Linked DNA regions of Homo sapiens: regions 1 and 2 are each linked to region 3. The links are contacts of gene promoters, found by promoter capture Hi-C in blood cells and fetal thymus (Javierre and others, 2016). All regions are on one chromosome and are shown on one strand. Each heading gives the region's core, a stretch centred on a gene start or on the middle of the fragment in contact. The rest is flanking DNA. Distances are from core to core; before and after follow the strand shown.

What was found. Contacts are between HindIII fragments. The CHiCAGO score rates a contact against its expected background, and 5 or more counts as called.
Region 1: a fragment that was not itself captured here is called in contact with the fragment with the promoter of MCTP1-AS1 in region 3 in 6 of 17 cell types (M2 macrophages, megakaryocytes, erythroblasts and 3 more); the score reaches 9.3 in M2 macrophages.
Region 2: a contact is called between a fragment that was not itself captured here and the fragment with the promoter of MCTP1-AS1 in region 3, in 6 of 17 cell types (M2 macrophages, megakaryocytes, endothelial precursors and 3 more). The highest score is 8.2, in M2 macrophages.

What each region holds. Positions count from the first base shown.
Region 1 is chr5:95,264,956-95,269,106 of GRCh38, reverse strand. All of the region lies in intron 1 of MCTP1 (multiple C2 and transmembrane domain containing 1), which reads left to right. Among named protein-coding and RNA genes, the nearest start is that of MCTP1, 18 kb to the left of the region's middle. The HindIII fragment of the contact is 3,351 bases long and covers 519-3,869 here.
Region 2 is chr5:95,248,198-95,252,742 of GRCh38, reverse strand. All of the region lies in intron 1 of MCTP1 (multiple C2 and transmembrane domain containing 1), which reads left to right. The region is part of intron 6 of LOC105379085 (a long non-coding RNA gene); the gene reads right to left. Among named protein-coding and RNA genes, the nearest start is that of MCTP1, 35 kb to the left of the region's middle. The HindIII fragment of the contact is 2,288 bases long and covers 1,580-3,867 here.
Region 3 is chr5:94,976,336-94,980,753 of GRCh38, reverse strand. It overlaps MCTP1-AS1 (MCTP1 antisense RNA 1), which reads right to left and starts at 2,056. Exons shown (of 2, transcript NR_189169.1): 1 at 1,147-2,056. All of the region lies in intron 2 of MCTP1 (multiple C2 and transmembrane domain containing 1), which reads left to right. The HindIII fragment of the contact is 7,189 bases long and covers 1-4,418 here.

The DNA of each region.
Region 1 (4,151 bases), core at 945-3,444, 290 kb before region 3:
AGTAAAGCAGTGGGAATTCTTAGCCTCATTTTATAGATAAATCAGTGGAGGCTTAGAAAAAATGAGGACATTTCTCAAGGTCACAAAGCTGGTAAACAGCAGAGCTCAGAACTGGCTCCAAAACTCAAGAGTCTAACTGCTATGTTATAGGTGGCTTTCTTCAATATTGAAAAGCTGCTAGGTCTGCTTGCCGGGTCCAACCCACAGACCCTGACCCAGCGATGGATGAAAGACATACACTGACACAGGTATTTTGCCTCTCAGTGCAGCTAAGGGGCTCTGCTGTCTGAGTCCGCAGCTTTGGCCCCAATAAGCTGGTGAAGTTCACATTTATTTAGGACAGATTAAATGACAAAGGTCTCCAGTAAACACCACTAAAGGGTGATTAACGTTGCCGACCTCCCTAGTAGAGAGCAGTCATGTGCCCACAGATGATCACAGGTTGTTGGTCTTAGGACCACATGAGTAAGCTATTTAGATAAACTCCTCTACATTCCTGTGTATCTATACCCCAAGCTTTTAAGAGAATTCAGCTGCCTTCAGCCAAATCTTTTACTGAAGCTATGCAAACCTCCTGGCCTTCCAAGAAGGTTCGTGTCTATTTCCTATAACTTTATCTTTATAATTACTCCCACCACCTTGATCGATCCCCTACATCTGCTCATGAGTATTGTCTTGTAGCTGTTTTCCAGATGTCTTGGAATGGGGAGAATATTCAGTTAAAATGTTCTATATAATAAACCAACCCCAAATATGTATGTGTAGCTGGAAGATCTCCTTCCAATTAAGTACCAACGATTTTAGTAACCATCTTTCTCTTTCTCCCTTCCTCAAATATTTATGAAATATCTATGTTGTGGTAGACATAGTATCTTGTTAATACCTTGATAATAAGACAGTTCCTGCTCACATAGAGCTTACGATCTTATAGAAGAAACATCCATTACATTAAAAAATATGCAAATTGTTACCAATTACAATTGTGATAACTGAATCAGAGGAGTACAGAGAATTGTAGGAATGAATTGTATGATAAGAAGTCCCAACCCAATCTTGAGAGAGGGAGGATCAGATCAGGTTTCCCTGAAGAAGCATTTAGGATCGAATGAAAATAACTAATAGGAGTTGGTCAGATTTCTTCAGGGTGGAGGGAAGGCAGGGATGTGGCAGACAGTTCTGGGCAGAAGGAACCACAGCAGGAAGCACTTAGAGGAAGATTGCCTGGGCAGTGGGGATTTGGTGATTAAGAGGGAAGGTGTGTGTGTGTTGGGGGAGATGGGTCTGGGATTAGTGGCAGGGACCAGATTATGCAGAACCTTGCAGATCTTGGGGAGATTTTGGACTTTAGCAAGGACTGAAGCAATTTTGAGAACCCAGATGCTCAGCCTTGAAGGGAAGAACCATCTTCAGGAGACTTCATGTCCTTGGTCTGGGAATAGCTTTCCTTTGCTTCTATGTGTGGAACCACATTGTACTCACAAAGTTGTCTTGTAAAGAGATAGGGAAGTAGGTTGGAGCTATGTTTTCCTTATTAGGATATGACATTTTAAAAATGTCGACAAAAATAGAAATACCTAGAGGATGAAAGTGTCTTTCCCCCTGGAAAAACATGCCATTTCATTGCTTTTTTATTGAGTACTATTGGAAAGTAAATGAAGGCAAGAAATGCAATCTGATGTCTCATTATCAGTGCTCAGGGGAGAGATTTCTCCTAGACAGCACATTTCCGAGCCTAGGTAGAGATGAAAATTAGATAAAGCTCAGTGATCCAGATGTTACAACTGTAAATTATAAAAAAATACATTTTCAGGAGATTTAAACTTCTTTCCTGAAGTTAGGGTGGGAAAAAAATGAAAAACTTTGGAGAGGGTTCTATAAGGAGGTGTACATTTAAAAATGTGTATTGTTTGTTAACATAATCATGGGTTAATTAGGAAGACTTTCCGTTGAACAGATCTAAAGCATGGTAAAGGGGATTTAATTTGTTCATATTTTCCTGTATATTTTCTCAGACATAAAATCTAAATTTTATATTTCCATGTATAGCCAATATTCATATTTATGAAACAGATTTGCAGCAATGTTCTCAAGCAAGAAGGAAAAGTTAAAGTGTGTTAAAGCTCACCATTACATTTGTTATACAATGTTATAGGAGGGAAAAGAAGGCAATGTCAAAATATTTCATGGAGACTGTAGTCTGTCACACAATCAAAATTGAAGTGGCGACATAAGCCAGCCTACTTGCTATTCTGAGAACGCTCAGGGTATGGATTCTAGCACATCTAGCAAATATGAGTGATCAGAAATTGTACCAAGCCCTGCCCGACTGAGGTTTGCCAATCTCTGCTTTGACCTCCCCAGCCAGCTACTACAATGACCAATATGAACATGGACTGCTTTAAGCATCCAACCATTACTGCCATCTGGACTAGGAAATAGCATCTAGTAAAAATTTTCATGACAGAAGCCATGCCCAAGTCTAAAGGGTATCAAGAACCTATGTATTCTTTTATCTGCTATTATGGAAAAATGTGATGTAGTCTTTCTGTTGTTCTTCATGTAGTATTTTACTGGAGTCATGACCAAGTAAACATTATACTATTCAAACAGTAAACAGATTTAAACAGTAATTCTCGTTCTATTTGGGTATCATAAACCCTTTTCAGAAACTAACAAAGGTTGTGGTATTTTCCCCATAGAAATGTACACAAAACCAGAATTGTGCATTCTTCCTCAAGGAAGGAAACTCATGACTTTCAATCCATGGACTCCAGAACCCTCAGTTAATACCCTTGGGTAAAAGGAAGACTCAGTAACAATTCTTATGAAAATTAGATGGCTCCATTAGCATTATAAAAGTTAAAACTTGAGTCTCTGAAATTTCAACCATGGCCTGCATATTTATTTATCCTAGAACCTTGCAGGGCACTTGGATTGATTTTTAGGAGGAAAAATCTGTAGACTGGCCTCCTAACAGTAGGTCTAGATATGCCCAGAAATAAAAAGGAAGCTGTAGCCTGCAGCATTTACCAAAGAGACCAGGGTGTGAGGGGAACCCAAATTTGGAGTTTCTTGCTAATATGGGGTTCTGTTTCCTAGAAGTTGATTTCTGTTTCCTTCTTATGCATTCTTATATGAGACTCTTCTTTGGGTCTGGGCCTTTCAGAAGCGAGATTCCTTTGCCAGAGACTGAGATATCTAATAGAAGCTCTCTCTGATTATCCTCCTCAGTTGTCAACATTTGCTGACTGCCGCCTACACACATAAGGAATTGAAAATCTGTTCTAGATTCTGGGAACCCAATACTCCTGCACTCCAGAGATTTTTTCTCTTAGATGGGGAGGTAGCATATATATGTAAAAGATAAATGTCACTACCAGGTAGCACAGACATTCCACTTTTAAGTAAATAAAACCATGGGAATCCCTGTGTCTTGGGAGATAAATACAGAGGCTTAATGACCTCATTTGCGACAACTGCTTGAACAATTGGTCTGGTTTGCACCAGCAGTAGTGTACTCTCAGCTCTCTGTTCACTTCTTCTCATTGATTTCATGGCCATCTTATAAATGTGCTGGGAAATGTAGAAGCCTGCAGTCTGAAATCACCGTGAAGAAAGAGCTTTGTTAGAGGGCAGTTCTCAAACCTGAGAGGTGGTGGATGATTCAGAAGGATATGGATCTGTGCTTGTGCACTCTGGGCTTTGATAAATGGAAGCACAAACGATTGCTTCCTTTAAAATAAGCCAACCACAGGCCTAACTTATAGCTCCTTGCCTGGAAGCCCGATTCTCTGCTTGGGGCAGCAGCCTATGAAAAGGAAGCTGGGTAGAGCTGAGGGTGGAATGTGAACACCTCTTGGACTGAAGCTTGTTGTACAGAAGGCCAAGGAGACTGAGCTGCTGCTGGGGCTGACTCCTCATGTCCTGCCAGCTGGGCCATGCTTGGGAGCTAAAAAGGCACACAGTAGTTCCCCACATGATACTGGGAACATTTGAGGAGTGGTGGGTAGGAACGGAGATGTCTAATAGGATGGATGGAGTAGAGCCCAGGCACCAGGGACGGGCTGTTCATGAGCCTTTCATTGCAAGATACAGGAGCTCAACTCTTCCTGGATTAGGCTTCAAAGGAGAGTGTATTGGTCACACCTGAA
Region 2 (4,545 bases), core at 1,474-3,973, 270 kb before region 3:
AATAGGAATGAGTGCCTAAGAAATAAAAAAATAGGGAAAAATAGGAATGGAGCGCCTAAGAAATAGAAATGTTAAAGTGTGAAAGTAGATCCTAGACCCAGACTGTGTAGGTTCAGATCTCAGCTCTGCTACTTATTTAAGGGCAAATACAAATTAAAAATTGGAGGCTTAATTCTTCTTCTTAAAAATAAGGGAAAAGATTTCTACCCCTTCCCTTTTCTTAGAGCATTTACTTTAGAAAACTTGTAATTGCACATTCTTTATCTCTTTGAAATCTATATACATCTTTTTAAAAACTAAATAAGGCTCTGGTGAGTTCTGTGACCCAGGAATGTCTTTCTCAAGGATCAGAGAACAGAGAACCATCTTTTTGAAATGCAATCAAGGAAGATAGTGCCCCTATCTTCCAGTTTTTGTGGGAGGGTAGCAGCCTAACTTCAGTGGGGGATTCTTAGTTCCTAAATTACCTTCTGTCATAGAGATAGGAGAAGTTAATTTTTCCTTTGGGTAAAGCCAATTAGTAACACACATGGTCACCCCAATACCAGGCTAATTTAGGATGAACTGTGCATGACAAATGGTGCTGTCAAGTCCCCTTCCTTGAGGACTAGTCATTGTTTATCTTGAGAACATGTATGTATGGGTTGTATCTGCTTGGCTATATAAATATAAAAAGGGTACGATTTCTTTCTGTCTTTGTAATCTCTTAGCAGATTGCCTGTGATGTATGATATTCTGCTTTGATGCTTATTCAATAATAAAATTGTATTCTTTCTCTTCTACCTTTGTGGAGAAGTTTTCTGGGTTGGGAAAAGATTTTGTTTTTAATTATATGCACTCAACACTTACTAGATATGTGATTTGGGGTAAGTTTCTGAATCTCTTTGCACCTCAGTTTCCTTATCTATTAATTGTGGATAATAGTATCTATTATTACTGTTGTTTATAGAATTATTGTGAGGATTGGATGACTAAATATACATAAACTGCTTAGAACAGAGCCAGGTACTATAATAGTAAGCACCATATATTACTTATTATTACTATAAGAGAAATTTTGCTTGTTTTAAATTCTGGTTCCTTCTCAACTACAGTGTATTCCCAGGGATATTTCAAGAGCAAACATAAATAATATTAATATAGGGAATCCCCTAGCAAGATAAGAAATCTCAACTTAAACTCCACCATCCACATGTATTTATGGAGTTACTTTCCCTAAATTTGAGAAACGTGTTTAAAAAAATTACTCTTCTAGTGAGTAATTCTTTCTTAATTTCTTTCATTCTTTCATAATGACTCATGAAATCCAAATCTGTACCATGCTATGAGTACCTGCATGATCTGGCCTCTGCCTCCTTCTTCAACCTGAACCTCTTGACTATTCTCGTCCCTCCCACCTTCTATGAGAAGTAGGCATACTGACATTCTTTAGGTTCCTCTAATGGTCAAGCTTGTTCTCACTTCAGGGTCTTTGCGCTTGCTTTCCCTTCTGCTTGCAAAGTGCTTATTTCAGATATTTGATTGCTGGCCCCTTTCTATTGCCAGGTGGGAGATAAAGTAACCCCTTCTCATAGAAGCTTCTCCTAAACCTCACCAGCCGCCCATGCTCTTTCTTGCTTCTGCTGTTTTATAGCACTTGTCTCTGTCCGAAATTCTCGTCTGTGTTTGCTAAATCTGTGTTTACCAAAAGTAAGTTTCATGAGAGCATGGGCTTTCTTTGCTAAATCTCTGCTTCCTAGTTCAGTGCCTGGAGCATAATAACATCTCAATAAGGATGCATGAATTAGTGAGTGAATAAAATAAGCTATTCTTATCAACTAGTCCTTGACTGATTTAACAGATATTTGTTGAGTAGCTCATATACTACATACTGAGGAGATTCAGCATTTTCCATGTAAGCCTACCTATTAGTAGTGTTAAGACATATTTATGCACTTTAAAAATATAATAATAAAGCTATAAGGAAAAAGTAGAAAATGAAAATATCATTAAAGAGGAAAGCATTTTTGTGCTAAGTATTGTTCTAGGCATTTCACATAAGTTATTCTGTTTAAATTGTACTCAAGAACGCTTCCATTTTTATATCATTGTATTCATTTTTATAGAGGAGAAAAAGAAATCCAAAAGTTAAATAACTGGCTTACAGTTGCCCAGCTAGGATGTGGATGGACCAAAATTCAAACTTATATCAGCCTGACTCTAAATCTTATTTTCTTTGCATTATACTAAACATAAAAACCGTCTCCTCTCCTCTGTCAAAAACTGTGAAGGGTCTGAAATGTTATTATACTTGCAAGCTAACCAGTTAGCCACCACAGTTTCATGTATACTGACACACAACACGAAGTTCCTGGATTAGAAACAAAGGACTTTATGATTCCTGACATAACAATAATATGAGCTTCACATTCATGTTCATTCCCTCAGCCCCCAAGTCCCATGGGGCGATGCAGAGTGGCTCAGGTAGTTGCTGTACATCTGAATCACACAGAAAACTTGAGCTTAGGGAACTCAACATTTCGTAACAGGCTACAAATAAATGTGCCCTTTGCTTATCTTCATTATTTTTATTTTATTATTTTTTTATTATACTTTTAAGTTCTAGGGTACATGTGCACAACGTGCAGGTTTGTTACTTAGGTAAACATGTGCCATGTTGGTTTGCTGTACCCATCAACTCGTCATTTACATTAGGTATTTCTCTTAATGCTATCCCTCTCCCAGGCCCCCACTCTCCCACAGGCCCTGGTGTGTGATGTTCCCCGCCCTGTGTCCATGTGTTCTTGTTGTTCAACTCCCACGTATGAGTGAGAGCATGCGGTGCTTGCTTTTCTGTCCTTGTGATAGTTTGCTTAGATTGATGGTTTCTAGCTTCATCCATGTCCCTGCAAAGGATATGAACTCATCCTTTTTTATGGCTGCATAGTATCCCATGATGTATATGTGCCACATTTTCTTAATCCAGTCTATCACTGATGGACATATGGGATCATTCCGAGTCTTTGCTATTGTGAATAGTGTCACAGTAAACATACGTGTGCAAGAGTCTTTATAGTAGCATGAGTTATAATCCTTTGGGTATATACCCAGTAATGTGATCGCTGGGTCAAATGGTATTTCCAGTTCTAGATCCTTGAGGAATTGCCACACTGTCTTCCACAATGGTTGAACTAATTTACACTCCCACCGACAGTGAAAAGCGTTCCTATTTCTCCACATCCTCTCCATCATCTGTTGCTTCCTGAATTTTTAATGATCGCCATTCTAACTGGCGTGAGATGGTATCTCATTTTGGTTTTGATTTGCATTTCTCTGATGACCAGTGATGATGAGCATTTTTTCATATGTTTTTTGGCCACATAAATGTCTTCTTTTGAGAAGTATCTGTTCATATCTTTCACCCACTTTCTGATGGGGTTTTTTTTAATTGTAAATTTGTTTAAGTTCTTTGTAGATTCTGAATATTAGCCCTTTGTCAGATGGGTAGATTGCAAAGATTTTCTCCCATTCTGTAGGTTGCCTGTTCACTCTGATGATAGTTTCTTTTGCTGTTCAGAAGCTCTTTAGTTTAATTAGATCCCATTTGTCTATTTTGGCTTTTGTTGCCATTGCTTTTGGTATTTTAGTCATGAAGTCTTTACTCATGCCTATGTCCTGAATGGTATTGCCTAGGTTTTCTTCTAGGGTTTTTATGGTGTTAGGTCTTACATTTAAGTCTTTAATCCATCTTGAGTTAATTTTTGTATACGGTGTAAGGAAGGGGTCCAGTTTCAGCTTTCTACCTATGGTTAGCCAGTTTTCCCAGCACCATTTATTAAACAGGGAATCCTTCCTCCATTGCTTGTTTTTGTCAGATTTGTCAAAGCTTAGATGGTTGTAGATGTTATTTCTGAGGCCTCTGTTCTGTTCCATTGGTCTATATATCTGTTTTGGTACCATACCATCCTGTTTTGGTTACTGTAGCCTTGTAGTATAGTTTGAAGTCAGGTAGCGTGATGCCTCCAGCTTTGTTCTTTTTGCTTAGGATTGTCTTGGTTATGTGGGCTCTTTTTTGGTTCCATCTGAATTTTAAAGTAGTTTTTTCCAATTCTGTGAAGAAAGTCAGAGGTAGCTTGTTGGGGATAGCATTGAATCTATAAATTACCTTGGGCATTCTGGCCATTTTTACGATATTGATTCTTCCTATCCATGAGCATGGAATGTTCCTCCATTTGCTTGTGTCCTCTTTTATTTCATTGAGCAGTGGTTTGTAGTTCTCCTTAAAGAGATCCTTCACATCCTGTGTAACTTGGATTCCTAGGTATTTTATTCTCTTTGTAGTAATTGTGAATAGGAGTTCACTCATGATTTGGCTCTCTGTCTATTATTGGTGTATAGGAATGCTTGTGATTTTTGCACATTGATTTTGTATCCTGAGACTTTGCTGAAGTTGCTTATCAGCTTAAGGAGATTTTGGGCTGAGACGATGGGGTTTTCTAAATATATGATTATGTCATCTGCAAACAGAGACAATTTGACTTCCTCTTTTCCTAGTCGAATACCCTT
Region 3 (4,418 bases), core at 807-3,306:
TGAAGAACATGGATAAGAAGATCAGCTTATTGTATCTTTTTTTTAATGACCTCAAATATAGAATCGTGCCAGTGACAATGTCTTTAGGACTACACATGCTTGGAAAGGGTGTCTATGAAATAAGGACTAGCCATTTCCTTAAAGCTCTAAAGATTCAGATGAGGAAGATTAGCTCTTTAAACATACATTTTATGACATACCTGTCCAAAATCAAAATATACTATATCACATAACATATGTTTTCAACAAATATTGAATTTCAAAAGGAAATTCAATATTTCATTGAATTCCAGTGCTGTGCTGGAAGCATTCAAGCTGCCTCTACATTCCGTCTATATGATCATGTGTCATATGTTACTGGGTTTGTAACTAGAATTTTTGTATTAATGAAAGACTGGACGAAGTCTCTTCCAATGCTAAGACTTTTTGTTTCTATAAGATTATTCATTCATCACTTAGTTGTGACGGGAAGGCATTGGAAAGTGGGAAGATGAATCATTTGCATAATATGACTTTGTTTTGCTTTGCTGCTGTTGTTAAAGTAGGGGGAAAACAATTAAAAGATTATAAATGATTTATCTAAAATATATCTGGGAGTACTGTTTTAAATGTCACTAAATTCCAACAAAATGGTAAGGGTAATTTTATTAAAAGTTCCTAAAACTATATGTTTAGTACTAATTCTTATAAAGCATCATTATTGGAGTAAACTGTTGATCACTTGATATTTCACAAGTTGAATTTTTAAGGTATTTTTTAAAACTAAATGTCAGTGGAGTCCTTTCTTTAAGGGCCTTAAATCTTACATTTTCCTTATTATTAGCACCAAACAATATAATCATGATTTGTTGTGGTTTAAATTTTGTATTTGTTAAGATATATAACTAAACAGATAAACCCGATATATCAATGATTTAACCTAAGAAAAGCTGTTTTTCTTGCTCTTATTATGGTTTAATATGTGTCCGTGTTGGAGGGTGGGGCTCTAGTTCTGCTCCACACAGTCATCACGGGCCCCTAGTGTTTTTTTTCTATCTAGTGTTACTATCTCCCTTTTGGTCCTCAAAGCCTGTGGTTGACAGAGTAGAGTAAGAATCCCACATGGGAAGATTTTTATAGGCCAGGCTTAAAATTGGCACACATTACCTTTTGCATTTATATTCAGTTGACCAGAATGCAGCCAATTGACCACTCCTAATTTTAAAGGAGGCCGGAAGCTATAGCTCATATTGCCAAGCAGTAGCATTCTTGGCTATACTCTACCTCTGGTCACCAAATATGTTTCACTCTTCCTGCATATAGAAGACATTCACTCTTCTCCAAGAGAAACAGTCAAAGTCCCATCTGATCACCGTATACAGCTCTAAGTTCAGGATCTCTGAATAAAAGGATATTCTCTGTCAGGTCTGAATGTGGTTCCTTGTAGCCCTCGGAACTAAGAATCTGCCTACAGTCTCCCTATACACATCCAACATACAATGGTAGAAATCATGGGGGGCACAAGTTACTTGTCAGTATAAATTCTGAAATCCCCATGTCCATAAAGAGGCCAGATGAAGGCCTCTTAACCTGGAGAGTAGGAAAATTGTTTGATTAGAACTTTTCTGTCTGGGAAGAATCCTCTTGTTTGTTGTTCTCCGTGGCAACTGGCCCCTTAATTTGGGGATCTATTTCTTATTCATTGTCCTCTATGGCCATGTCTGAAATGGGTGTGAAGGAGCTTGCTCTCCTTGGGGATTGTACATCTTTCATATCCTGCTTCCTACTAGGGTAATGTCAGGGATCTCAAACAGCTAAGTTCTTTCTCTCAAAAACTCAGTAGGCAGTAGGCTTCTGTGTGCCAATGATCACACCCAATGATCTTGGTTTTTTAAAAAAATTTATTTTATTGTGGTAAGAACACTTAACATGAGATCTACACTCTTAACACATTTTTAGGCATATAGTACAATATTAATATAGGAGCAATGTTGTACAGCAGATCTCAAAAACGTATTCATCTTGTGTAATTGAGACTTTATGCCCATTGACTGGAAACACCCCATTCCCCACCCCTACTACCAGCCCTTGGCATCCACCATTCTACTTTCTGATTCAATGAGTTTGACTATTTTAGATATCTGATGTAAGTGAAATCATGCAGTATTTGTCCTTCTGTGGCTGGTATATAGCATAATGTCTTCAAGTTTCATCCATGTTGTCACATATTGCAGGATTTCCTTCTTTTTTCAGTCTGAATAATATTCCATTATATATATATACCACATCTTCTTTTTATGCATGCATTCATTGATGAACATTTAGGTTGCTTCTATGTCTTGGTTATTGTAAATAGTGTTGCAATGAATATGGGAGTGCTTATTTCTCTTTAAGATCCTGATTTCAGTTCTTTTAGATAAATACTAAAAAGTCAGATTGCTAAATCATATGGTAGCTCTATTTTTATTTTTTTTTAGAAATCTCCATATTGTTTTCCACAGTAACTGCACCATTTTGCATTCCCACCAACAGTGTACAAGGGTTCAGATTTCTTCACATCCTCACCAACACGTGTTGATAGTTTTCCTACCAGGTGTCAGGTGATGTCTCATTGTATTTTTGATTTTCATTCCCCTGATGTTTGGTAACAGCATCTTTTCATATACCTGTTGGCCATTTGTATGTCTTCTTTGGAGAAATGTCTATTCCAGACTTAGCCCAGTTTTAAAATCAGATTATTAGGTTTTTTTGCTATTGTGTTGTAGAAATTCCTTATATATTGGAAACTAACCCCTTATCTGATATATGATTTGCAGATATTTCCTCTAGTCCCATTTGCCTGGTTTTACTTTTGTTTCCTGTGCTTTTGGTGTCATACTCACGCAATCATTGACAAAACTAATGTCATGAAGGTTTTTCCCTGTTTTATAGTTTCATGACTTATATTTAAGTTTTTAATCCATTTGTATTGATTTATGTATATGGGGTAAGATAAGAGTCCAGTTTCATTATTCTGCATGTGAATATACAGTTTTCAAAAGCTATTCGTTGAAGACTATCCTTTCCCTATTTTGTATTCCTGGCACCCTTGTTGAAGGTCAGTTTACCATACAGGCATGGATTGATTTTCATTCTGTTCCTTGGACTATATGTCTGTCTTTTTCACAGTACCATGCTGTTTTAATTACTGTAGCTTTGTAATATATTTTGAATCAGGAAGTATGATGCCTCCAGCTTTGTTTTTCTTTCTCAAGATTTTTTTTGACTATTCGGGGTCATCTGTGGTTCCATATGAATTTTAGGGTTTTTTTTTTCTATTTCTGTAAAAAATATCATTGGAATTTGATAGAGATTTCATTGAATCTATAGATTGCTTTGGGTAGTATGTACATTTTAACAATATTCCATTTTTCAATTCATGAACACAAGATGACTTTTCATTTATTAGTGTCTTCTTTAATTTCTTTCATTAACATTTTATAGTTTTCAGTGTACAAGTCTTTTACCTTCTTAGTTGAGCTTATTTCTAAGTATTTTATTATTTTGAGGGATAATGTAGACACAATTCTTTTTCTTCATTTCCTTTTCAGATAGTTCATTGTTAGTGTATAAAAATGCAATTGATTTTGTATGTTGATTTTGTATCCTGCAATGTTACTTGACTTGCTTATTTATTCTAACAGTTTGTTGTGGAATCTTCTGTTTTTTATGTGTAAGATGACATCATCTGCAAACAGGGCCAATTTTACTTCTCCTTTTCAGATTTGGATAGCTTTTATTTCCTTTTCTTGTCCAATTCCTCTGGATAGGACTTCTAGTCCTATGTTGAATGGAAGTGGTGAGAGTGGGCATCGTGTTCCTTATCTTAGAAAAAAGTCTTTCAGTTTCTCACCATTGAGTATGATATTAGCTATGGGATTTTCACATCTGGCCTTTATTATGAGGTAATTTTCTTCTCTTTTTAGTTTGTTAGAGAAAATACAGTTGTGCTACATGGCCAGGAAGAAGAGGAAACACACATCAGTGAGGGGTAACAATCTCAACCATAACTTCTCTATACACATAAGAAAAACCTTCCTTCTAAATATCTTGTGGAAAAAATAAGAATGTTTTTACTGTATGTTTGCTATATCTATTTATTAGATATTGAGAGATATGTCACAAGTATATCCAAACACCTTTATTCTGGTCTGGTTTCTAGTTGGTTGCTCTGAAGAAATTGAAATCAATCAATCAATCAATCAAATAAAAAACTCTTAGAAGATTGCTACTAAAATTAGATTGTCTAAAAGTACTTTTATTATTTATTTATATATTTATTTTTTGAGATGGAGTCTTGCTGTGAAGCCCAGAATGGAGTGCATTGGCGTGATCTTGGTCACTGCAACCTCCACCTCCCTGATTCAAGCAATTCTCCTGCCTCAGCCTCCCTAGTAGCT